Linked DNA regions of Homo sapiens: all the other regions are linked to region 1. Evidence: promoter capture Hi-C in 16 types of primary human blood cells and fetal thymus (Javierre and others, 2016). All regions are on one chromosome and are shown on one strand. The core of a region is centred on a gene start or on the middle of the fragment in contact, and the rest is flanking DNA. Distances in the headings are between cores, read along the strand shown.

Evidence for each region. The method cuts DNA at HindIII sites, captures the fragments that hold promoters and counts their contacts. A CHiCAGO score of 5 or more calls a contact.
Region 2: a fragment that was not itself captured here is called in contact with the fragment with the promoter of SMC3 in region 1 in 16 of 17 cell types (total B cells, M2 macrophages, naive B cells and 13 more); the score reaches 16.1 in total B cells.
Region 3: a contact is called between a fragment that was not itself captured here and the fragment with the promoter of SMC3 in region 1, in 12 of 17 cell types (fetal thymus, megakaryocytes, M0 macrophages and 9 more). The highest score is 10.6, in fetal thymus.
Region 4: a contact is called between a fragment that was not itself captured here and the fragment with the promoter of SMC3 in region 1, in 7 of 17 cell types (total B cells, naive B cells, fetal thymus and 4 more). The highest score is 9.9, in total B cells.
Region 5: a fragment that was not itself captured here is called in contact with the fragment with the promoter of SMC3 in region 1 in 1 of 17 cell types (naive B cells); the score reaches 5.2 in naive B cells.
Region 6: a fragment that was not itself captured here is called in contact with the fragment with the promoter of SMC3 in region 1 in 1 of 17 cell types (endothelial precursors); the score reaches 6.0 in endothelial precursors.

What each region holds. Positions count from the first base shown.
Region 1 is chr10:110,565,436-110,569,593 of GRCh38, reverse strand. SMC3 (structural maintenance of chromosomes 3) reads right to left here and starts at 1,899. Exons shown (of 29, transcript NM_005445.4): 1 at 1,763-1,899; 2 at 581-656. The coding sequence starts at 1,777. LOC105378483 (a long non-coding RNA gene) reads left to right here and starts at 2,286. Exons shown (of 2, transcript XR_946318.2): 1 at 2,286-2,561. RefSeq lists a silencer at 1,290-1,579 and enhancers at 1,920-2,019, 2,030-2,079, 2,894-3,596. The HindIII fragment of the contact is 2,181 bases long and covers 1-2,096 here.
Region 2 is chr10:110,319,594-110,323,751 of GRCh38, reverse strand. No RefSeq gene overlaps it. Among named protein-coding and RNA genes, the nearest start is that of SMNDC1, 17 kb to the right of the region's middle. The HindIII fragment of the contact is 2,437 bases long and covers 478-2,914 here.
Region 3 is chr10:110,342,552-110,346,709 of GRCh38, reverse strand. No RefSeq gene overlaps it. Among named protein-coding and RNA genes, the nearest start is that of SMNDC1, 40 kb to the right of the region's middle. The HindIII fragment of the contact is 776 bases long and covers 1,299-2,074 here.
Region 4 is chr10:110,359,712-110,363,869 of GRCh38, reverse strand. No RefSeq gene overlaps it. Among named protein-coding and RNA genes, the nearest start is that of SMNDC1, 57 kb to the right of the region's middle. The HindIII fragment of the contact is 176 bases long and covers 2,297-2,472 here.
Region 5 is chr10:110,379,875-110,384,032 of GRCh38, reverse strand. No RefSeq gene overlaps it. Among named protein-coding and RNA genes, the nearest start is that of SMNDC1, 77 kb to the right of the region's middle. The HindIII fragment of the contact is 1,670 bases long and covers 1,042-2,711 here.
Region 6 is chr10:110,410,145-110,414,302 of GRCh38, reverse strand. No RefSeq gene overlaps it. Among named protein-coding and RNA genes, the nearest start is that of DUSP5-DT, 84 kb to the left of the region's middle. RefSeq lists enhancers at 1-59, 3,137-4,158. The HindIII fragment of the contact is 1,974 bases long and covers 1,144-3,117 here.

The sequences.
Region 1 (4,158 bases), core at 650-3,149:
AGGTTTGTTACATAGGTATACATGTGCCATGTTGGTTTGCTGCACCCATCAACTCGACATTTACATTAGGTATTTCTCCTAATGCTATCCCTCCCCCAGGCCCCCACCCCCCTATAACTGGGATTTGAACCCCATTCTGTTATGCTCCAAAGTTTATGCTCTTCCAATCTAGCTACATGGTCTGTCCTTAGAGACACTGACTGCCGGGGTGGGGGGGGAATCCTGGCATCTACTTTGTGAATAAAAATTGTCTGTCTCTGAAATAAGGCAACAGTCAGCATTTTCACTAGGATATATAACAAGAACAGAAGAGCGGAAATGCTTTAAAACACTCTTACACACACATACAAGGCTACCTAGATAAAAAATGGATAACTTATGAGTGTCTTATCCAAACATTTTAAGTTTATAAAAATAAGCAATTCATCAGTGCAATAAGACAGAAAAGTTATTTCACGCAGAAAAATATAACTTAATATTCAAAGACAATTCCTGTCTCCTTAAGCCAATATAGAAATGGACAGAATTTACATTATCTGTATAGACTATAAATATGACCGAGTAAACCAAGAACACTTACCAATCACATTATGTTTTGAACTGAAGGGATCTACAATTGTTTGATCTCTGTAACTTCGAAAACCCTGGATAATCACCTAGTAAATAAAAAACATTTTTGAGAACCCACCCCACAAAAAAAATTAACATTTTTCTCTTGCATTTCTTTCTTGTTTTTCATTTAATGCAATATAGAAAACTCGAAATTTCATATAAGAAAAATTCATTTTGGAAAGTGGTGATTAAAAATCTGCTAAAAAAAAAAAAAGGTACTTTTATCGGTAATCTTTGCCAAGGCAATGCTGCTGGGTTTTATTTTTTTTTAGGAGTTATGCTGTCAACCTGTTAAGGACCTTTCAAAATCAAAAACACTGTGTGAGCTTAACTGAACCCTAAACGCTGCAGTACAATAGCAAGTCTATAAAAGCAGGCCGACGGGCCCCAGCTCTCCTGACTCCAAGACCACCGAGTGCTGCTTTCAGTCACTCACGCCGGCCAGCCTGAAAGAACCCACGTTCCAAAGAAGGAGTGCTCAGAGCCCGACAGACCCAACAGAAAACCGTCTCCAAGGCCGTGTGCCTGGGCTCATCTTTGTGGTGGAGTCCCGCGCGGGAAGACCATTTTGACAGAAGTAAACAACCGAGGGAGGCGGCGCTCCGTATCCTGCAAGCAGGAGGGTCCCGCTCACTTCGCGGGTTAACTGGGGAGAAGAACGGCTCCCCGCAGTGACAGGTGACGACACCCCAGCCAATGCCCCCAGGGCCGCCCCCGGGCCGGGGAAGCCACCTTTCCACACATCCCAGGCACATGGGCCGTGTGAGGCCACCCCTGCAGGACCACACAGCCCTTCCCGCCCGCGGCCGCCCCGGCGGGGTGCCCCCCGCCAGCTCTGGGGCCACCCAGGAAGGCCCAGTCCCTCCCAGCGGCCCGCCCGCCGGCCCTTCCACACCTCTCGGAGATCCTGCCTCTCCCAGACAAGCGCCAGCAGGGAGGCCGGGGCTGCAAAGGAGTGCCCCAATTCTCCGCGACCCCGCAGCCGGGGCACTAGCGGGACCCGGGTCTCCCTCCTCCCCCACAGTCCCCGCCCAGCCCTGGTCCAGCCTGTGGAGACAGGGGAGAGGCTGCGGGTGGCGCCGCAACACTCCCGCCTCAAGGAGCGGCCCTTACCGGCCCATGACGGGGTGGAGGGACGCGAAGGCCTTACCTGCTTTATGTACATGATTCCGGGCCCCTGGCCTGGAAGGAGACCTGCCCCGGAGCAGCAACCGCACGGCCGCAGGGTCAGGTGAGGCGCCTACGCGACCCCTCCCCCAAAGCGCCGCTCGCTCCCCTCAGCCAAACAAAATGGCGGCGCTCGTGGGGGCGGAGTCCGCGCCTCGGACGGAACCACCTTGCAGCCTTCACAGGGCGTAGGAGGAGTCAAGTTCAGGTCTGCTCTTTCTTTTAGGCAAAACCAGTCCTCCACAGCGTTTTTTGGTGGATTTCTTTTGAATCTAGAATTCTGTAGCTAACGCTTTCCTGAGACTTAGTCAAAAGCTTCACTCGGAAAATCTATGACCGTAGGGTTGGTCCGTACCACCTCCGAGCGCGGGGCCAATGGTCGCGTCCACAAAGGGGGAAAGGTTCCGCGCCAAAGCCAAGAGGGAGACTCCGAGGGCCAGTAGCGCCGCGGGCTGTCGGCCACGTGATTCCGCGCTGTTTAAAAAAGCGGACCTCGCGCGCACTGTGCTAGCCTTGGAACACATGGAATGCTGGTGATTCTTGGAATTCTGTGTGCGGAGTCACTGCTGCCCCTTTGTTATCGCTCTCCATAGGAACGTTTACAATCTTAGCACGCCCCAAGCTGGTTACGAATTGCCCACTCGGAGGACAACCCCGAAGGGATTTGTCAATGCTCGAAAATTTGTTTTAATAATGTGATGATTAATTCCGTCGGGAACTGTTTCTGTTCTACCATCTGCTATAAATCTAGGCAGATCTGTACAATTGCAACAAAGATTTAGGTAAGGCTGAAAGCTTTTAATCCACTTTAAAAACAAAAGAAAACAGCCTGAAAGATACTAGGTGCTAGTGGCAACCCTAGGTCTGTCTGATCCTTGTCAGTCTTGGGAGAAAAACATCATTTGTTTAGAAAATGAATCTCTGGGCTGCTCTGAAATTACTTGCTGGGAAGAGAACAAAATAACTACCCAAATCATCCCCAGCCCCACCCCCGCCCGCTGCTGGAGACAATTCTGGCCCTAATTATTTCTAGATTGAACTATTTTTAGTAGCCTCCTAACTGCCTCTGCTAACCAGGGTATCTCCCTAGGAGTCCTTTATCTGGAGCCCGGATCAAATCCTATCCAGCCCTTGGTTTAAAAAAATAAATAGGCCTGGTCGAGTGGCTCAAGCGTGTAATCCCAGCACTTTGGGAGGCTGAGGGGGGAGGATCACCTGAGGTCACGAGTTCAAGACCAGCCTGGCCAGCATGGCGAAACCCCCGTCTCTACTCGAAATACAAAAATTAGCTGGGCGTCGTGGCGGGTGCCTGTAATCCCAGTTAGTCGGGAGGCTGGGGCAGGAGAATTGCTTGAATCCAGGAGGCAGAGGTTGCAGTGAGCCAAGATCGCGCCACTGCACTCCAGCCTGGGCAACAGAGCGAGACTGTCTCAAAATAAATTAAATAAATATGTAAGCATTTTCTTTTCTTTATTTCTAACTTTTTTTTTTTTTTTTGACAGGATCTTGCTCTGTCACCCAGGGTGGAGCTGGAGCATAGTGGCTCGGTCATGGTTCACTGCAGCCTCAAACTCCTGGGTTCAAGCCATCCTCCCACCTCAGCCTACAGGCTGTGGCCACCAAGCCCAGCTTTTTTTTGTTTTTGTAGAGACCAGGTCTCCTTATGTTGCCCAGGCTGGTCTCTAACTTCTGGCCTCAAGCGATCCTCCCACCTCTGCCTCCCTAAATGCTGGGATTACAGGAATGAGCCACTGCACTCAATCTAAACATTTTACTTCTAGATTTTAGTTGTATTATTTAAAGCTTAGGACAGGTATGGTGGTTCACGCCTGTAATCCCAGCACTTTGGGAGGCCCAGGTGGGTGGATCACTTGAGGTCAGGAGTTTCAGAACAGTCTGGCCAACGTGGCAGATAGGATTATCTTATACATCCTGTTTGTAATTCTAAATATGATGGAGTTTTATCATCTTCATTTTATAGACTAGGAAGTGGAGGCTCAGCATGGCAAAACTCCGTCTCTACTAAAAATACAAAAATTAGCTGGGCGTGGTGCAGACGCCTGTAATCTCAGCTACTCAGGAAGCTGAGGCAGGAGAATCACTTGAACCCAGGAGGCAGAGGTTGCAGTGAGCCGAGACTGACACTGCACTCCAGCCTGGGTGATGGAGCGAGACTCTGTCTCAAAAAAAAAAATTCTAAGCCTCCACTTCCTAGTCTATAAAATGAAGATGATAAAACTCCATCATATTTAGAATTACAAACAGGATGTATAAGATAATCCTATCTACCTAAAATTGTTTATACATATGTAGGCAAAATATGAAAAGATGGTGACTAAAACATTTGAATGGCTTTCACAGTGATGGGAGTTTTACTTT
Region 2 (4,158 bases), core at 447-2,946, 250 kb after region 1:
CAGAAGACAAGGAGCAAGAGCAGGAATGTGCGGGAGGGCAGCTGATGTGGCAGTGATGCAGCAGCAGAGAGGCCTCCTGACAGAGCTAAACCTGACTCATGCCCATTTGTCTGGGACAGCCAGATCTTTCTGCAGGTCCCATTTTTCCTGGTTTAAGCTGGTCTGTAAGTTGAGTGAGAATCATTTTCCTGGGTGTCAACTCTGTGGCCTTCCCTTCAGAGTGGACATAAAATCAATAATGCTGATGAGCTGAAAATGACTGCAAACAAAAGACAATATTTTGGAGAAATTTGGGCTTTGTTTTGGCAAATGAGTGGCTTAAGAGTTAGAAGGAAGAATCCTAGGGATATGAGTGATGGACATGAGTACTAGTCCACAAAAAGTGGTATAAAAAGCAAAGAAGGGTAGTCTCTCACCTACAGCAGAAAAGAGTCCAAAACGGTTTCATTGAAAAAGATCACTCTCCTAGTTTAAGCTTATTGTTGGTCTACTCATGTGCTAGTGACCAAAGTTACACATGAATTGCTTAGCCCAACGCATCTCCTTGGTGGAAAAATAAGCTCAGTTGCCTCACTGTCCATTATGTAAGCACGTGTACAAAGTTCCCCTCCTTGGGCCTTTGCCTCAGGTTCTTTGCTGGTTTTCTCACCTGGATAATCTTATTTGGGGAGGTTTATCATGGCAAAAGAAGAACTTACTGCCTGAGAAACAGATAGGCTCCATATAGGGAATCAATTCAAACTCTTGTTTCACTCAGCCATTTGCTCATTCAACAAACACTCAGCCCCAGCTATTTGCCATGTTCTGGAGATCTACAGATGAATAAGACCTGATGCTAAAGGAAAATCAATGGCAAGAGTACAATGGAACACCAGATATAATAGAGGTAAAGGAGCACAGATACCACAGCACTACGCAGGATGAGCAGGGGGCATCCAGTTCCACCTAGGGAAAGGGGTCAGGGACGTTTTCCAAGAGAAGATGACCCTTGAGTTGGTGATTGAAGGATGAGTACAGATTAGCCTGAGAAACAAGAGAATAAACTTCCACTAAAAAAGATCAACATTGGCAAACCACAGAGGTGTGACACTGTGGCTCATTTGGAGACCTCCAAGTGGCATAACTAAGGCTAGAGATGACATCAGGACCCAGATCTTGAAGCAATATGCTACGGTATAGAAATTCTGTTTCCAAAGGGATGGAAAATCACTGGAAGATTTTAAACTGGAAAGTGACAAGGTCAGAATTCGGGCTTAAAATAACCATTCCGGCAGCAGAAAGAGAAGAGATCAGGATGACAATTTAGGAGACTCCCAGGCTATAAATATGGAATTGTACTAAGACAGCAGCTGTGAGAAAGGAAAGAGGCTTGAGCTATGTAATGACATAGTAGATGGAGTTGGTGTCCCACTGAAGTAGAAAAGAAAGGAGAAGAATGAGTTCAGAGGGACTCCAGGGTTCTCTCTTGTAGAAGGCAGCAGGTAGCATCATTTCCTGAAAAAGTAAATATAAGAAGAGGAGCAAATTCGGAGGGAAGAGGATAAATTCCATTTTGGACATGTGTGCAAAATGTCTGTGGCTTCTTTCACTTTTAGCAGTTTGAGTAAAGTGTTCCAAAGTATGCTTTTCTTTGTATTTATCCTGCTTGGGGTTTACCAAGATTCTTGGATATGTAACTTTATGTCTTTCACCAAATTTGGAAAAACTTCAGCCACTATTTTCTTATTTTTTCTTTTTTGATACAGAGTCTTGCTCTGTCATTCAGGCTGGAGTGCGATGGTGCAATCTCAGCTCACTGCAACTTCTGCCTCCCAGGGTCAAGCAACTTTCTTGCCTCAGCCTCCTAAATAGCTGGGACTACCGGTGCATGCCATCACACCCAGCTAAATGTTGAGTTTTTAATAGAGATGGAGTTTCACCATGTTGGCCAGACTGGTCCCAAACTCCTGGCCCCAAGTGATCCACACATCTCAGCCTTCCAAAGTGCTGGGATTACAGGCATTAGCCACTGTGCCTGGCCTAATTTCTTTTTTTGCTTGTTTGTTTGTTTTTTGAGAAAGGGTCTTACTCTGTTGCCCAGGCTGGAGTGCAGTGGTGTGATCATAACTCACTGTAGCCTCAACCTCCTGCTCAAGCGATCCTCTTGTCTCAGCCTCCTGAGTAGCTTAGACTACGGGCGTGCACCACCACACTTGGCTAATTTTTAAATTTGTATTTAATAGAGATGGGGTCTCTCTATGTTTACCAGGCTGGTCTTGAACTCCTGGGTTCAAGCAATCCTCCTGCCTTAGCCTCCCAAAGTGTTGGGATTACAGGCATGAGCCACTGCACCCAATCTCAGCCACTATTTTCTAATACATTTTCTGTATTATTTTCTCTTCATTAGGGATTACAAGTGTGCTTATGTTAGAATTTTCTGTGTTGACCCAGAGGTCACTGAAGCTCTTAATTTTTCTTCAATCTTTTTTTTCTCTTTTATCTTCTGTTCTGATAATGTCTGTTGGTCTATCTTCAAGCTCACTGATTTTGATCGGCCATTTCTAATCTTCTGTCAAGTGCATTGAGTGAATTTTTAATTTTAGATGTTATTTTTTACTTCTAGAATCTTCTATTAGTTCATTTTTGTAGTTTCTGTCCCTCTGCTGAGGTTTCCTCTCTGTTCATTCATTATGAGCATATATTTGTTTATGTCCTTGAGCAGAGTTAAAATAGTTTACAATAGTTAAAATAATTGTATCCTCATTCAAACTTTTACATCATCTTAGATTCAATCTCTATTGATTGCCTTTTCTTTTGAATATAGGCCACGTTTTTCTGTTTTCTTCGATTGTCCAGTAATTTTGGATTGTGACCTGCACATGGTAAATTATACATTATAGAGACCATGGTTTCTGTTATGTTCCTCTGGAAAGCTTTTAATTTTTTGTTTTACAAAACAGTTAACTTGGCTACACTAAAACTTCAAACTCTTTCTCTCGTATAATGTGCAAGAGTTAAAATGTCCGTTCAGTTCTTTTGTCATTAGCTAGGCTATTTGAGGTCTGCCCTTTATGTGTATAATCTGGAGGACAGTCAGAGATTTGGGGAAAGTTTATACACAGAATTTTTGGCTTCTCTTCTGTGGCTCTCTCCTTTTTAGGATACCCACCACCACAACAATTTCCCAGTTGTTGCAATAGCTGTGATAACCTCAAGGTCTGACTTCCAATTCCTCAAAATTGTATATTTCTATCCAAATTCTAACTATCCCATCACAGAGCTGACTGAGGCCTTTCCTCAGGCAAAAATTCATTAGGGAAAAAAAAAAAAAAAGCAAACTCATCCAGCACCATTTCCTTCTTCCAATTGTAAATTATCCTCTGGTTTCTAGTTTGGTCACTCTGTAATGCCTTTAGGTCAATTTTTTTCCTCCAGAGTTTATAATTGTTATTTGCAGAAGGGCTGATCCAATATGAACTACCTGCTATTAACAGAGATGGAATTCCAGGGGTTTAATAAATACTTATTGAATAGATTCAAGTACCCACTTTATAGCTATGTGTTGATCACTGATAGACAACATATGCTTCATCTAGCACAAATTAACTAAACTCCTGGTTCTCTCTCTCATTCCTACCTCCCGCCAACCTGCTCCTCCCCAAGTCTGAATATATTTCCAACTGCCTTGATATTTCCACTTGAATAAATAATAGGCCTTTCAAATTCAACATATTCAAAACGGGAATATGCCCACCTCAGGGTCTTTCCACTTGCTGTTCCCCCTGTATGGAATGATCTTCCACCAGGTATCCACATGGTTCACAATTCTCACTCCCTTCAGGTCTCAGCCCCAAAGTCAACTTTTCAATGAGGCCTTCCTGACCGTTGCTATAAAACAAATACAACTCCTTCCCTCCTTTGCACTACCTATCTCCTTGCTCTCCTTTGCTTTTCCCCATAGCACTTATCTTCACGTAACTAGTATCTGCTTTTTAAATTGTTGCTGTCTGTCTCCCCTCACTACCATATAAGGTCCGCAAGAGCAGGGCCTTTTCACTGCTTTCTCCCAAACACTGAGCAAAGAGCATGATATAGAGTAGGCGTTCAATAAATAGTTGTTAAATGAAGGTTGAAACTACTTGAATCAAAGTGAGATGAAAACTTGCGTAAGGAAGGAAC
Region 3 (4,158 bases), core at 437-2,936, 220 kb after region 1:
TCTGAGCATTTGACGGGATCTACCCTTGTCTAGAGCAGTCAGGGAAGGGATTCCTTGTGAAAGTAACATTTGGGAGGGGCTCTGGAGGCTGAGTCTAAATTAATTAATGGGAGGTTGAAAGGCACAGCAGAAAAGGGGGCCAGAATGTGTCTGGACCCTGAGCAGGAGGGCTGTTTGAGGACAGGAAAAGCAGACATGAAGAGTGTGGCCCAGTGAGGTGGTGGAGGCATGGAAGAGGGCATACAGTCAAGTTTGGGAGTCATCATTTGAGGTTGTTTGCTTCAGAAAGAATGGAGGGGAGAGAATTAAAATTATGAAAATGAAAGAATGAATATGTCATCTATCAGCTGCAGGTCAGAGTCACAAACTCATGGGCTAGGCAGATAAGACAGAGTGGAGCAGGCCTGTAAAAGGCAATAGGGAGTGGTGGAGACTGTGGAAAACTGAAGGATACACATACATACACACACACACACACACACACACACACACACACACACACACACACACTATGCCCAAAGGCATTTAAATTTAAAATATGTTCAAACCTGTTGCTGGCCAAATAAAGCAAAGTCTGCCAGCCAACAGTTTTGGGTCCCTGACTGCAGGGGAACAAGTTGCCTGGAAACAAAGAGTTTTGGGGGAACGGGGAGAGCTGGGAGCTCCTTGGCCACAGAGCCAGAAAAAGAGTCAAAAGAGCCCCTCTGTGGAGAGCACACTTTCACTTATACTAAAGGCTTTGTCTCCCCAGTCTGCAGACTGTTCTTCATAGAGAATAAAGCTCTCCCTTTCCCCTCCTGCAATAGAGAGAGTGAGAGAGTGAAAGAGAGAGAATGCGAGAGAGAGCAGGCCCCTTTGGCTGTCAGATGGACAGCTCTCTACCCATGTTCCTTGTGGTTCCTCCAGCTTGCCTCCTGTAACTCACCTGTCCCCAGGAGTCACTCCACTCTCCCCAAAAGCAGAGTTGAGGACAAGATAGTAACTGCTGATTAACATGAATGGTGAAATGGAAACAGGGCCCCCCACAGCCATTCCCCACTCAGGAAGGCCTGTCTGCCGGCTACAAGCACTGCTGGTTCCCTGTGCTCAGTGAGACTGGCAAGCTCCCATGACGTGAGACTTGAGGGTAGGATGGAGTTGGGGAAATAAACAGAAGGAAGATGCAGAAAGGAATGGAAGCAGATACCGAAACCAAGAAAATAAGATTAGAGGGCTGACACCCTCATAGGTTATTTCAACATGAATTTCCTAGCGTAATTTTGGGTCATTTGCATTCCATTGTTGTCTCTTTCAAAGCTTGAGGTAGGGAGATTTTTAGGGACCTCCTCCACCTTCCCTGTGTAACTGAAAAAAACATGGCTGAGCTTATCTTAATAACCATCATGTATTTGGCCAAAACAATTATTTTCTTCCCTCTTTGTAGATTTAAATGTCCTTAAATGTGTTGGGGGTTTCCAGCACCTAATGTCTTCCCAGTTGTGCAGAAGGAACATGCCAGCCTTCGTGGTTTTGTTTTTCCTGCAATGCAGATGAAGAACTAAATTTGTTTTGCCAGACCTTTGTAGGGCAAACGTCTTTACTTGACAGGAGGAAGTCTTCTTCTATCTTATAAAGGAAGAAATATTTTTAAAGGCTATTTCAACATGTAAACACTTCTTTTGCCACATGCATGCCTTTAATTGCTTATTTCCACTACCTCCTAAAACCTAATGCAGAGCTATTCCTTGAAAGGAATTCAGCTGTCTGAGCCAGAATTTTGAAATGACAGGCTTGTGAACAGCAAATCCCCAAAAGGTAGTGAATATTTGTGGCTTCCTGATGGCCGATATAGTTTGAATATCTCTCCCCTCAAATCTCATGTTGAAATTTGATCCTCGAAGTTGGCAGTAGGGCTGGTGGCAGGTGTTTGGGTCATGGGGGAGGATCTCTCATGAAAGGCTTGATGCCTTCCCTGTGGTAATTGGGTTCTCATTCTGTTAGTTCACTCAAGAGCTGGCACCCCTCTCCTCTCTCTTTCCTTCTCTCTCACCATGTGATGCCTGTTCTCTTTCACCTTCTGCCATGAGTGGAAGCTTCCTGAAGCTCACCAGAAGCAGATATCAATGCCATGCTCCTTGCAGCCTGCACAACCATGATCCAATTAAACCTCTTTTCTTTATAAATTACCCAGCTTCGGGTATTCCTTTATAGCAACACAAACAGATAAAGAAAAGAGCCCAGCGTCCATCCCTGTAAAGCCCGAGAGCACTGGGTGTTTGTTCAGATACCACTCTTTCCCCCTTAGTTCATTGGATTCCAGTGGAGTTGACTCTGCGCTGAGTCTTAGAAAAGGCATTATGCCGAGGCTGGCACAACCAGATGACCACATTCTCTGATTGATTGAGGGACAGCCACTTGACCTAATTCTGGTCAATAAGAGTCGAGGAGACTCAACTGCAGCCAGTAACACCAGGGAGGACATGACACTTGGGCTGCTATGACCATCCTCTCCACACAAGGGGGTACATATGAAAATGGAGTCAATACATGTAAAGGCAGAGCCAAAGACAGAGAAATTGAATCCTAGTGACGTCATCTGAGCATTGGAATCCAGCCATACCTAAAGACAGCCCTACTCCATGGGCTTCTATGCTACACAAGAGAATAAATTTCCGGTTTTTTCCTAAGTCAGTCTGAACTGTCTTCCGAGTATCATCTATCCAATGTAAAGCAACGTGGCTGGTTCTAGTATATGATTCTGGTAAAATCTGTCCCATTAGTCTATAGTCATACCTTATTATATCTGTAAAATGCATTCAACTTCTTAAAGCATTTTAACCAATGTGTTATTGCTTTTCATCCAGACCCCTCTTAGGAGAGTTTACCCACTTTACCTCCATGTGATAAGCAACTCTCCCAAGGTGACGCAGTACTAGACAGAGGAGTCCTAATTTCCCAGCAGGCACCAAAGAAGACCATTCCCTTGTCTACATTCTCTTAAACATTTAAAAGATTACCCCTAGGAGACTGAGTCTGGAGAAGAACGATTGAAACAGAGAGGTTCTTACTTACTGCAGTCTTATTTATAATAGCCAAACCTTATTAAAATATCTTAAATGTCCATCCATTGGCACCTCTATGGAGTAGAGTAGTATGAAGCCTTTAATGAGGCAGAGCAAAATGTCCTTGTATGATACAATTGCCAAGAAATAGTTCTAAGTGAAAAAGCAAACACTGTGTGGTATGCTATTGCTTGTAATTTTAGGAAAGAGAAAGTCTATGTACATATAATCTTACACACACATCGACTGTCTCTGGCACAAACTGGTGACAGTGGTACCTCTGGAGAGGGCGCTTGGGAGTCTGCAGACAGGGGTGAGAGCAAAGAGACTTCATTTTTCACCGTGTACCTCTTTCTACCTTTTCAATTTTGTAAATGTACATGTTTTACCTATTTTATAATTAGATGAACTAATTTTTTTCAAAAAGAAATACAACTAACCACTTAAAAAATACACATTTTTAGTGTGAAGACATCACAAAGCTTTTAAGGAGTGTCTGGGCTTTTAACCCTGTGACTTCACTCCTTCCAGAAGCTGGGGCTGGGGCTTGTTCTACCTGGATGCTGATTTTTAGGGGGCAGGGTTGCCGACTGGGAGTCCATTTTGAGTGCTCCTAGAAGGAAAATGCCACAAAAGCTATTGGAGCAATTAGGCAAAATGTAAATGAAATCTATTTGGGGAGGGTCGGGGAAAGCTGAAAGATGTGGTTAAGCAGTGGGGCTGCAGGGACCTGCAAATGGGAAGGAAAAGAGGCAGCCGGTTATTTTCAGGAGGAAAGGGGAGGTCCTTGGTATTCTCTGTGTGCATTTATTCAATGTCTTAACATTTTCATCAAGTGTCTTCTATTCAGTCATCAATCCAGGCTATCTTCACAGGGGCCAAGGCCATGACTGCCTCATGGTCTAATGCTTCTGGGAGGCCTTATTTTTGGACAAGTATATGGCTTGAAAATTTTAGATGACACACACCAAAAAATGTATTAAGCTCTTGGGGAGGGAACAAAGGAATGAAGGAGGCAAAAACTTAAGAATCTCAAGGGCCTCACACCATCCTTAGTCCTTGAGGAGGTGGCACCAGGAACACAGAGTCCTAGCAGGGAATCACAGCAGGAGATAGA
Region 4 (4,158 bases), core at 1,135-3,634, 210 kb after region 1:
ATCACCCTCAGATTCTCCACTGTCTTGAAAGAGCCAGTTAGCCCTTTGTTTCTTCGAGCTGCTTTGGCTCATTCGGAAAGTCATGTCGGTGTCCCTGTTATTATTTACATAGAGGAGGTTTCTCTGTTGTCTTGCTCACCAAATAGCGCATGTAAGTGGCCTGGCCCAGTCACTCTTGTTTTCTTCCTTTTTGACACAAGGAAGCCATGCTTCTAAGGAGACAGGTGACAAAGAGTGTGGGGTGGAGGGGCACAAGTAGAAATCAAAAGTCATGGCATTTAGTCTTGGTGCTGGGTTTTAGTCGTGGTGCTGCCATTGGTGAGGTGTGTAACCTTGGGCAAAACTACACATTTCCAAATGTCATTTTCTTCCTGTACAAAATAAGGGGTTGGCATTGACACACGGATTCACAGAATCTTTGAGCACTTCTCATCTACCTGTCATTTTTATAGATAAGTAAGCAGGCCCAGAGTGGCCATTCAACTAACCCAAGATCATGTAGCTAACTAGTGTTAAGACTTGGGACCCAGCATTCAGACCTTCTACCTCCTGGATTTGGGTGGGATTGGATGAAAGAGGGAAACTTTTTAAGAGAGCCAAGGCACAGTGACGGGATTACACTCTCTGTGCATGCAGAGAAGTATGTAGGGGTGACTTTTCCTTCACATCAAATATTCCAGGGTTTAGAATAGTAGTTCTATCCACCCCAGGGCAATTTCATCCCTTAGGGGACATATTTGGTTGTCATAGTTGGGGTGGCCGAGGAGAGAAGGGGAAAAATTCCACTGGCATCTAGCAGAGACTAGAATACTACAATACACAGGGCAGCTCCCACAACAGAGAATGATCCAGTCCAAAATCTCAACAGTGCTGCGGTAGAGAGCCCAGTTAGACACAAGCCCCCTTCTCTACTGCCAGTATTCTCTAGAATTTTAAACATTCTTGCTTTCTTACCTTCAGTCACAAAAGCACTATTTTTTTTTTTGCTGATTTTGTTACTGATGTTGGTTTTAAAAATATGATTTTTTTTCTTGAGTATACAAATTACCCAACTCATTTTTTTTTTTTTTTGAGATGGAGTCTCGCTCTGTCGCCCAGGCTGGAGTGCAGTGGCGCGATATCTGCTCACTGCAAGCTCTGCCTCCCGGGTTCACGCCATTCTTCTGCCTCAGCCTCCCGAGTAGCTGCGACTACAGGCGCCCGCCACCACGGCTGGCTAATTTTTTTGCGTTTTTCATAGGGACGGGGTTTCACCGTGTTAGCGAGGATGGTCTTAATCTCCTGACCTCGTGATCCGCCCACCACGGCCTCCCAAAGTGCTGGGATTACAGGCCCAAACTCATTTTAAAGAATAGAAAATTCAGAAAGACACACACACTAAAATCAATCAGGTATCATCCCACCATCCAAGGGTAAGAATATTTTGGTATTTGGTATTTTTTTCATATTACCTCAGATTCACAGGGCACACCCTGCTTTCTCTGTTTCGTGGCTTTTCTCAACAATTCTCTTTTCCACCCTATCCCCATTAGTACCTGTTGAAATCTCACCCTCGCTTCAGTTACCTCAAATAGCATTCCTCCAGGAAGTGTCACATACCACTCAGAACCCCAGCTGCGCTGGAAGCGAACTCTCCTGCCTTTATATTCCTGTAGCACTTTGTAGCTCACAGATGTCAATTTTGACACTTTTAAAAATATTCCAGTTATGTGTAAATTCCTGAGGGTAGGGATTAGATTTTAGTCTGTTGAAAGTGTGTCCCCCCACCCTTCTCTCTCTGTCTCTTACTCACATACACATACACACAAACACACATACACATGCACTCTCTCTCTCACACACACACTACAGTGCAAGCACAGCACTTAAGATGAGCTCCACCCCCTTTCCTCTCCTGATATCATCGTACTCTTACTTTCAGAATAAATAACCATCCTTTAGTCACAGAGAACATTTCAATCATTGGTGGCTTTGGTTGCTCCATCATTTGCAATTATTCTAGTGCTCTTCTTTCTATGTGAATTTTGAAGATGTTTAATATTTTAATAAAAATGAAAAGTTTTAACTTAAATATCCCTTATTATGTGTCAGCTGTTTTGGGGATAGATGGTTATTTAAGTTTTCTGATTCAATCCAAACTGTGGAAAAGCATGATTGGCACTTTTTTTACAAATGTGAACACTGAGGCTTAGCAAGGTAACCTAACTTGTGCAGGGTTGTCTGACTAATTAGAGGAGGCACTGGGATTTAACCCAGGGTTACCTGGCTCCAAGACTATGTGCACCACCTTGAAGCTTCCCAAGCGCCAAGGAATCCACTTGCCTCTACTCATCTCTTTTTCTACAGTAAGAGGCAGCAGGCAGGTGCATTAGTGCCTATGGTCTAATGATCTGGGTGGCCCCAGGCAAGGCAAAGAGAGGTCACAGAGTCCAGCCCAACTCCTTGGCGTGGGAACCTCTGGCTGGGTAAGCTTCTTGGGAGCCTCTTGAATGCGTGTGCAATCCAAGGTCACAGGAAGCCAAGCATTCCCAGGCCTGTGGGCACGTGGCATCTTGAAGTCTATTCTCTTGGTCTGATACTTCCCAATGCCTTGTACTAAGTGTGTCACACGGGAGGGGGATAATGGGTGACTCACCCCACAGACACTTGTCTACTGGAGGGCCAGCATCCTATTTCTCCTTAGCAGGGGGCTGACCATGGCAGGGGCATGACCTTACCAGGGCAGGTTGGGGCTGAGCTCTGACAGAAGAGGACACATCTCTTCTTCCAAACTATCCCTTCTTTCCCAGTCAAGCTCAGCCTTGCTCTCCAAGGTTCTGAAGTCGTTTCCAATACTGAGGAGGGTTTCTCCCATTTTTTTGCAGTGTGGCAGACCAAGTACAGGCTCTGCTTCAGGTTTAGCTTTGTATCAAGCCCAGTTCTGCCAATGAGGTGATCTTGAACAAGTTGCTTGCCTTCTCAGAGCCTCAGCTTCTCCATCTGTAAAATGGTAAAAATGACACCCAACCTCCAAGGGCTGGAATGAGAATTCAGTGAATGATGGATAGAAACTGATATCATGCTAAAAAATCTCTCTCCTTTTTTCTTGTAGACATCAGAGGATGGTGGGAGGGTGGTTTGAAAATGTGGGAGAGGGGGCTGGGCGAGGTTGCTCATGCCTGTGATGCCAACACTTTGGGAGGCCGAGGTGGGCAGATCACCTGAGGTCAGGAGTTGGAGAACAGCCTGGCCAACATGGTGAAACTCCATCTCCACTAAAAATACAAAATTAGCCAGGCATTGTGGTGCACACCTGTAGTCCCAGCTACTTGGGAGGCTGAGGCAGGAGAATAGCTTGAACCTGGGAGGTGGAGGTTACAACGAGTCAAGTTCGCACCACTCAACTCCAGCCTGGGCAGCAAAGCGAGACTGTCTCCAAAAAAAGAAAAGAAAAGAAAAGAAAAGAAAAGAAAAGAAAGAAAGAAAGAAAGAAAGAAAGAAAGAAAGAAAGAAAGAAAGAAAGAAAGAAAGAAAATGTGGGAGAGGAAAGTGGGTTGGAATGGAGAGGCTGGGAGGGGCAGGCAAGGAGTGGCCCATTCCTTCCCATAAGGTTTTCTTTTCTTTTCTTTTCTTTTCTTTTCTTTTTTGAGATGGAGTCTCACTTTGTCGCCCAGGCTGGAGTGCAGTGGCTTGGCTCACTGCAAGCTCTGCTTCCCGTGTTCCCTCCATTCTCCTGCCTCAGCCTCCCGAGTAGCTGGGACTGCAGGAGCCTGCCACCACGCCCGGCTAATTTTTTGTATTTTTAGTAGAGACGGGGTTTCACCGTGTTAGCGAGGACGGTCTCGATCTCCTGACCTCGTGATCCGCCCGCCTTGGCCTCCCAAAGTGCTGGGATTACAGGCGTGAACCACCGCGCCCGGCCCCCATTTGGTTTTCTACCTGGAACCCGGGTGGAGGAGAATCCTTCTGCTGGTTACTGGCAACCACACTCAAATACAATCAGTCATTTGTACAGATTAAACCTGCTGCTCTAAATCACTGTGTGGGCTTAGGATCAGCTTCACTCCATTTCCATGAGGCAGTGGAACCCAGTGGTTAGAAGAACAGGTTCCACCTCTGTGTAGCCTTGGTCAAGTCCCTCAATCTTCGAGCCCCCGGTTTCTCATCTGTAAAGTGGGG
Region 5 (4,158 bases), core at 627-3,126, 190 kb after region 1:
AATTTTTTTTTTTTTTTTTTTTTTTTGAGACAGAGTCTCGCTCTGTCACCCAGGCTGGAGTGCAGTGGCACAATCTCTGATCACTACAAGCTCTGCCTCCTGGGTTCACACCATTCTCCTGCCTCAGCTTCCCGAGTAGCTGGGACTATAGGCGGCTGCCACCACACCCAGCTAACTTTTTGTATTTTTAGTAGAGACGGGGTTTCACCTTGTAAGCCAGGATGGACTCCATCTCCTGACCTCACGATCTGCCCACCTCGGCCTCCCAAAGTGCTGGGATTACAGGCGTGAACCACAGCGCCCGGCCGGGGAATGCTAAATTTTTTGTGTCATAATCTCACATGTTGTTATTCCTCCAATCAACCCTGCATGGAACTGGTGTCCCTATCCGCTCAGATGAGGGAAATGTCCAAAAAACACAACTCATTTGCCCCAGATCACAGAGCTCATAAGAGAGCTGTGGGCCTTCAGATGGACCTGGCGTAACTAAGTAAGGCATCTAAGACTGTGACCTCCTTGAGACCAGCACTTGGATCACTTTCCTGCCATGTCCCCACATCTGACACAGGTCTGGAATGTCACGGGCAATAACAAATGCTCCTTGAATGTTGTTGAGCAAATGAAGGCAGGCCCGGGTGTGTGGAACCCTCCCCCCGGTTATTGGCATTAGGCCCCAGCATTTACTTACCCACCTGTCTGCTCACCTATGCCTGCCCCTTGCCCCAGCCCTAAGCCCCAGGAGGAAAGCCAGGGTGAGGGGTGTCAGATACAACCAGTCTCTCTAATGTCGTTCTCTATGACCTGTACTCTACCCACTGAGGGTGGCCTCTCACCCAGGTTCCCTGAGACCCTTAGCCTGACACATTCCCCATCTCCAGACATTTGATTAGATCCACTGGCCTTCAACGCTCAGCCCAGCTCACAACTCCCTGGCTCTGATCCCTCATGGGACCACCCAGAGCTCTTTTCCTCCTTGCCTTATATACTTAGTTTATTTTCTTTTTAAAAGTCTGAATGGCCACTATCCCCTTTGATAAAGCTTCTCTGTGTGCTCAACACAGATGAGGACATGGAGGCCCAAAGAGGTCATGTGTCTCGCCCTGGTCCCCAGCCAGCGAGCAACACAAGGTCACACTCAGGTCTCTGCAGCCCCCAAGGCCGACACTCTTCCTGTTATAGCCCAGAAAGCCTCCGAGATAAACCAGAAGGAGGCTCACTTGTTATCAAATGGGAGTTTCACAGGATCTAGAGTTGGGAGGAACATTCATTTCCTGATGCCACCTCTGTCCCCTGAACTATGGAGAATACATCCAAACCCCTGCCACACGGCAGGAGGCTCAAGTGTCTGAGTGGCTACGACTCTAGTTATCCAGGCTCAGTAGACCCTCTCATGCCCAGTTCCCCTGTGGGTCTGTCTTGACTTCTCCAGTGTGTGGCCAATTCCCTAAAGGTGAGAAGATCTTCTCTTAGACTCCTGTGTCCTTCCACAATCTTCCCAGTGTGGATCAGGTGCTATTTTACTCCTGTTTCAACCTTGAGTTCCTGCAAGTGCTCTTCAGCTGTTCATCTCAAGTGAAATGGGAGCAAGTAGGCAAGGACAAAGAGTAAATCACTCTCCTCCAACAGCCAAAGCTCTAGTCCTTCTAACGATAGCATCCACTATTGAAGGGGGCCTTAGTATGTGCCAGTTGCTGCGCTGACAGTCACAGCCTCACTTCCTTCTCACGTCAGCTCTGTGAAGGAAGAACTGGTATTGTGTCCACGTTGCAGATGAGAAAGTTGAGGCTTGATAGCTTACATGACTTGCCCAAGTTAATGCAGCTAATGTGTGGCAGTCCGAGACCAATACCTGGCTCTCTGCCATCACATTTGACAGTCCCCAGCTATATCAGCCAGGGTCCTGTAGGAAATGAAGCACACTCAAACTGGGTATTCTCAGGAAAGTGAATAAAGGGACACTGCACAGAAGTATTAGCAGGGTCTGGGCAAGCCCAAGTGGAGAGCAGTGTACCCTCAGCTCATGCCAGCTGTGTGGACAGCACTCTTGGGCCCGAACCTGAGACAGGGGCTATGTGGAGAGGCTCCCTAGCAGGAGCTGTGGCCTTCAGTGGACAGACATAGACACAGCTCAGCAAGAAGGGAATAAACACCTCTAACTGCTCACCTCCATGTCTGTCCAGTTTCCAGCCAGTGTCCCACTGGTCAAATCCAGCTGGAAGCCAGAGCCCAAAGGAACCCACTGATATAACACACCAATGTCAGCTTCTGGGCACAGAGGAGGGGAGAGAGTGGATGGAGTGGGTGGCAGCAAACAGAAGGTCTCCAGAACCCTAGCCAAGGTAGAGTTAGCAGATTCACTAAATGTGGCTACAAGACAAATGCATCTTGGGATTCATGTGGCACAAACTAAGAGATGGAGATTTTCCTTTTATTTAAAAATTCAACCAGGGCTGCATCAACCCTGGCTCAAAAGCAATCATTTCTTCTCCCCCATCACCTCCACCAACACAAAAAGAGAAACAAGAAAAGAGAATAGGCACAGAGGCAAGGCTGAGTGTGGAGCGGGGCCCTTACCTAGGCAGTGAGGCAGTATGTTCCAGAATTGAGACCTCTCAGCTCAACCCCTGCTTCCCCAGAGAGGACCCAGACCCACCACGGGCTTCCATATATAAGGAATCTAGAAATGCAGGGACTTTGAGAAGAAAGAAGCTTGGAGGAGAGCACAAGGGCTCCCCAGAGAGTTTGGGTCTCCAGTCTTGATGCATTTACCAGGTGCCTACTGCATGCTCTGCACTGTGCCCATGAGAAGGGCCTGGGTTCAAGTCTGACCCAGACCCTGCCCACATCTGGCCACAGTCTAATAGGAAACTCAGACACATAAAGCATAGGCGACAGAACAGTGTGGGAAATGCACTAGTGGAAATATGTACACACGCAAGTCAACAATTAAAAAAATTAAAAATGGACAAAGGATTTGAATAGAAATTCCTCCAAAGAAGACACACAAGTGGCCAATAAGCACATTAAAAAATGATCAACATTATTTGTCATTACAGAAATGCAAATCCAGCCACAATGAGATATTGCTTCAAACCACTAAGATGACTCTAATCAAAAAGACAGATAATAACAAGTGACGGAAAGGGTGTAGGGAAATTGGAATCTTCATACACTGCTGGGGGGGCATGTAGAGTGGTACAGCCACTTTCAACAGTTCCTCAAAAGGTTAAACACAGAGTTTTCATGTAACCCAGCAATACCACTCCTACATATAGGCCCAAAAGCATTAAAGCATGTGTCCACACAAAAATCTGTACACAAATGTTCGTAGCAGCAGTATTCAGAATAGCCCCAAAATGGAAACAATCAAATGTCCATTAATTGACAAATGGAATAATAAAACATAGTATATTCATGCAATAGAATATTTTTCAGCCATAAAAATAAATGGAGTACATTCACTTCATAAAGGGAAAGCTATTTTGAGTAGTTTTTCTTTTTTTCCACAAGGGGAAATGCAAAGCAGTTAATTTTTTAAAAATGAAAGTTACAAAAAATAAGAAATGAAAGTTACAAATAAGTGAAAGTTCTAAAAAGAAACAAAACCCAAAACTTTACATTAAAAATGTATTTCATTTTCATGATGGAAAAAATACAGGGATTGATATTTGAAATACCAATTTATTCAATTTCTATGTTAACACACATATCTACTTTTCATATGGATTCTGGATTCTTTTTATTATACTTCCAGTTTTTTAAAAACACCCACACAGGTAAATAAGTGAGAGCACTAGGAATATCAGAGGATTATGTATAAAGATGCCTTTTAACTTGAACTTTTCATTTAAATCCTTCATTCTGATGGTATTAAGTGAGATTGACAACTATACTGAGAATTTGTTATTTCTCCTATTCCTTTGATAACCAGAGTTACAGTGGAAGTCATCCATCTTATCAGTCCCAGAAAATGCAGTCCCTCCAAAAAAACTTTGACGTTTCCTTTTCCTGCCTTCTTCTGTCATTTCCTGCCCATAAGTTCCAAGAAAAGGTGGATACAGAAACATATGGAAAAATGTGGTGGTGAACTAATTACAAAAACAAGAGCTCTGTTCAAAATAGATTCTGTTCTCTTGAGATTATAAATATTTTCTGTGA
Region 6 (4,158 bases), core at 881-3,380, 160 kb after region 1:
TGACCTCCCAACCTGGCCGCTGGCCACATACAGTGGAACCCAAGGAGGACTGCTGATGCTCTCTGATCATTTTCTGCAATGCGTTATGCCCTGGGAAATGAAAAGTGCTCCCTTCTTTCCATCCCCAGACTTTTCAGGAAGCAAGCACAGTCCTGACCTTCTAGATATATCTCCAGAGGCTCAACAGAAGCTGAGGAGTGAGGCAATTATTTGAAGAATTCAACCCCACTTCAGGCAGCTGTCTGAGCAGATTGATGCAACGGGAAGAGGCAAGACTGAGCGCCAGGACCTAGTTTCTCGTCCTGGTGCTGCCGCTCATTTGCTTTGTGACCTTGAGCAAATCAGTTTTCCTCTCGAGCCTCTAGTTTCTTTCTCCTCTGCACATCCATTTGTTATTTCTTCAACAAATACCTATTAAATGCATACTGGGCCATGCACCTGAGTATACCATGCTAGATTCAGGAACAAGCAACTATGGAGGATGAAAAATGTCCAGGAAGTCTTTGCACCTCCTCCTAACAAAAACTAGCACTACTTCTCTGTCCTTTGACTCTAGGATGACCTTGTAACTTGCTTTGACTAATGCTGCGAAAGTGACTCTTGACTTTTGCTCTCGCCCTCTTGGAACCCAGCTACCACATGAGGAAGCCCCAGCTAGTCTGCTGGAGAGGCCACATGGAGGAGAACTGAGCCTCCCTCACTGACAGCCTCCACCAACAGCCCATCAAGTTAGACTATGCAGTCCCAGTCAACAAGCCACTTGACCAAAAATGTAAGAGTGAGCCCAGCCAAAACCATCTGGAGCAGAAACAAGCCACCCTGCTGAGCCTTGACCAAACTGTCAACCCACAGAATTGTGAGCAATTACATGGTTGCAGTTTTCAGCTATTAAGTTGTGGTGGTGGCTTGTTATTGATATAATTAATGTTTATTGACAATTTCCAATGTGCCATTGACAATGCTAAATGTTTTACATATATAATTTCATTTATTCCTCCCATCAACCATGTGAGGCAGGTACTACTATTCAAATATCCATTTTACAGATGAGAACACTGAGGCACAGGAAGGAGAAGCAACTTGCTGAAGATCAAAGAACAGCTGGGTAGGGGAGCTGGGATATGAGGCCAGGCAGTCCAAGCTTCAGAGCCTACACTGGTAATTCACCACCACCTTACACAGAACCAAACAGACCTGGTTCTTGCCCTTACAGAGTTTATCATCTAGGTGGGAGACTGGCATTAAAGAAACACAGAAATAAATATACAATCACAAATATTGATGAGTGCTAGGAAGAAGACAGATGCTACGGTGTGTTCACAGAGAAGGCCTCTAGGGAGGCCCGAGGGTCAAAGGGGCAACCAGCTGAGCGAGCTGGGGCAAAGACCAGAGGATTAGAATGTGATTTTGCAATTTCTGTCAGCATAGATGTCCCCTGGGAAGCCTGGTAGAAATGCAAAAAAGACCTGGGCCTAATTCCCCAGAGGTTCTGATTTTCACCAGTCACCTCCAGATATTCTGATTTGCTGGCTTTGCTTGATTGGGAGCCTGATAATTCTTTTTGTTTTTGTTTTTCTTTCTTTCTTTCTTTTCTTTCCTTCCTTCTTTCTTTCTTTCTTTCTTTCTTTCTTTCTTTCTTTCTTTCTTTCTTTCTCTCTCTCTCTCTCTCTCTCTCTCTCTTTCTTTCTTTCTTTCTCTCTCTCTTTCTCTCTCTCTCACTCTTTCTTTCTTTCTTTTTGAGATGGAGTCTTGCTCAGTCACCTAGGCTGGAGTGTAGTTGTGCAATCTCGGCTCACTGCAACTTCTGCCTCCCGGGTTCAAGCGATTCTCCTGCCTCAGCCTCCCCAGTAGCTAGGATATTACAGGCATGTGCCACCACACCCGGCTAATTTTTGTATTTTTGGTAGAGACAAGGTTTCACCATGTTGGCCAGGCTGGCTGGTCTCCAACTCCTGACCTTGTGATCCGCCTGCCTCGGCCTCCTAAAGTGCTGGGATTACAGGCTTGAGCCACTGCACCCGGCCTTCTTTTTCGTTTTTAAACGTGCCCCCCAGCTGATTTTTCTCATAAGGGAAATTTGAGAAGTACAGCTCAGTAGTATCGTGTGAATAGATTAAACAAAATAGCTGCCCAGCCCCCATTCTGAGAGAGATTATGATCCATTTGGTCTGGGGTATTTTTTTTTGAGACAGAGTCTCACTCTGTCACCCAGGCTGGAGTGCAGTGGTGTGATCTCAGCTCAGTAGAGACAGGGTTTCACCATGTTGGCCAGGCTGTTCTCGAATTCCTGACCTCAGGAGATCCTCCCACCTTGGCCTCCGAAAGTGCTGGGATTACAGGTGTGAGCCACCGCATCCGGCCTTGGAGTGAATATTTTTAAAAGCTCTTTGGGTGATTCTAATGTGTGGCCAGGGCTGGGAAGTGATGTTGGAAGATTCTCCAAGGTCCAAGGCTGCTGCTTTTCTCTAGTTCTTTGGAGACACCAGGGCTGGGAAGTGATGTTGGAAGATTCTCCAAGGTCCAAGGCTGCTGCTTTTCTCTAGTTCTTTGGAGACACCAGGGCTATCTGGGGCTTCTGAAGCTCTCCCTTTGGTGATTTAATACTGTGGAGACCCAGAACAGAGCCTGAGGTCAACCTTTGCTCCAGACGGGGCTCTGACTGAACAGGCCCAGTAGACCCCTCCTCACAGACTACCCTCCCCCCGTAACATTCCCAGGGGCTCCCTCTGGCTCCCACATTCCCTTTAATTTTCATTTGCTTTAAAGTGGAGAATTCCTTTAATTGCAGGGAGAAAATGACTACCACTTGCAAATATTTGTCCTCCTCTAGGGCCCTATAAGGCAGCTCCTTCATTTTATTCTCTTCCTTTGACACCTTGCTCAGGGCCTCTCGGAGCTCATATTCCCCACTCTCTGGAGAATGATGCCATCTGTGGGGTGACCCATAAGAAGGGCCCATGGTGCCTGGATGGTTTCTTATCTGGCTTCCTCCTCTTCTTCCAAATAAGGCAGGAGGGTCACCGGGAGTGCCACCTGATGCAGCTTGATTTAGACCAGAGAGTATGAAAGAATCCACTCTTGGCTTGGGGCCCACCAGCCGCAGGCCTGAAGAAAGCTTGCTGTAGGCGAGGAGGCAGAGAGAGAAGGGCGCTGGCCCAGAATGCTACAGCCCCTTGTGAGTGGCGCAGCATGGGCTTGAGCATGCAGAGGTAGCACGTTCACGGCACAGGCGTGAGAAATGCCTCCTCCCGACAGCCTTGTCCCTCCATTCCAGTGTGGCTGATGGTCGCCACATAGAGGATTGCCACGAGAATTCAGAGTTCGTGGTGGGGTCTGGGGCATGGCGGGGACTCCCTAAAGGAGTTTTCATTCCTCTTTGCTAGGACAGACACAGAAATAAACTTGATGCCCGAGGAGGAAGACAGGGCCCCAGGAAATACCCTTCTTTAGGGGCTGGGAGAGACTCCAGTAGTTGCGGCCCATCCCTGGAGGCCCCAGCTCTCTCTCCAGTCCCCAGGAGCTGAGAGGTCAGCCCTGCCCACTCCTGTCTCACACAGAGGACCCTCCAAGCTGGCTGTATGGGAACAGCCTTGCCCACACATGATCCAGATGGTTGCCCAGAGGAGGGGATGGCCGAGGGAAGGGTGAGGCCTGACCAGTGATGAAAGAATGAAGAGAATGAGGTACTGACTCATTCTCTGGCTCCTGCTCTAGGAAGGAAAAGGACTTATTTGCGGGTGGGGGTGTGGCTGGAGCCAGGCCAAAGGGTGCAGTGAGAAATGAGGTGCCTCTGGCTCACGGATAAATCCTCCTGGGAAGTGGGGCCAGTTTACGAAACCCAGCAACTTGATTGACGGTCTCTTCTTTCTTCTAACTCATCCTTCTAACTGGGAGCAGTAGGAGGAATTCCAAAGACCAAGGCAGGCAGCCTTTCTTGAGTTCTACTGCACATCCAGCCCTAGGCCAATTCTGGTGTGGACACCATCCCTTCAGAGTGACAGGATGAACTTGGGGTTCAGCATCTGCTTGGGCAGAGCGAGTGTTGGCCGCTGTGCCTTGTTCTCTCTCCCCACCTTTCTTTCCTCCCACCCACCCCTACCTCACCAAGCCAAGTATGGACTGTATCTGGGACAAATTTTTCTGTATAGATCAAACAGT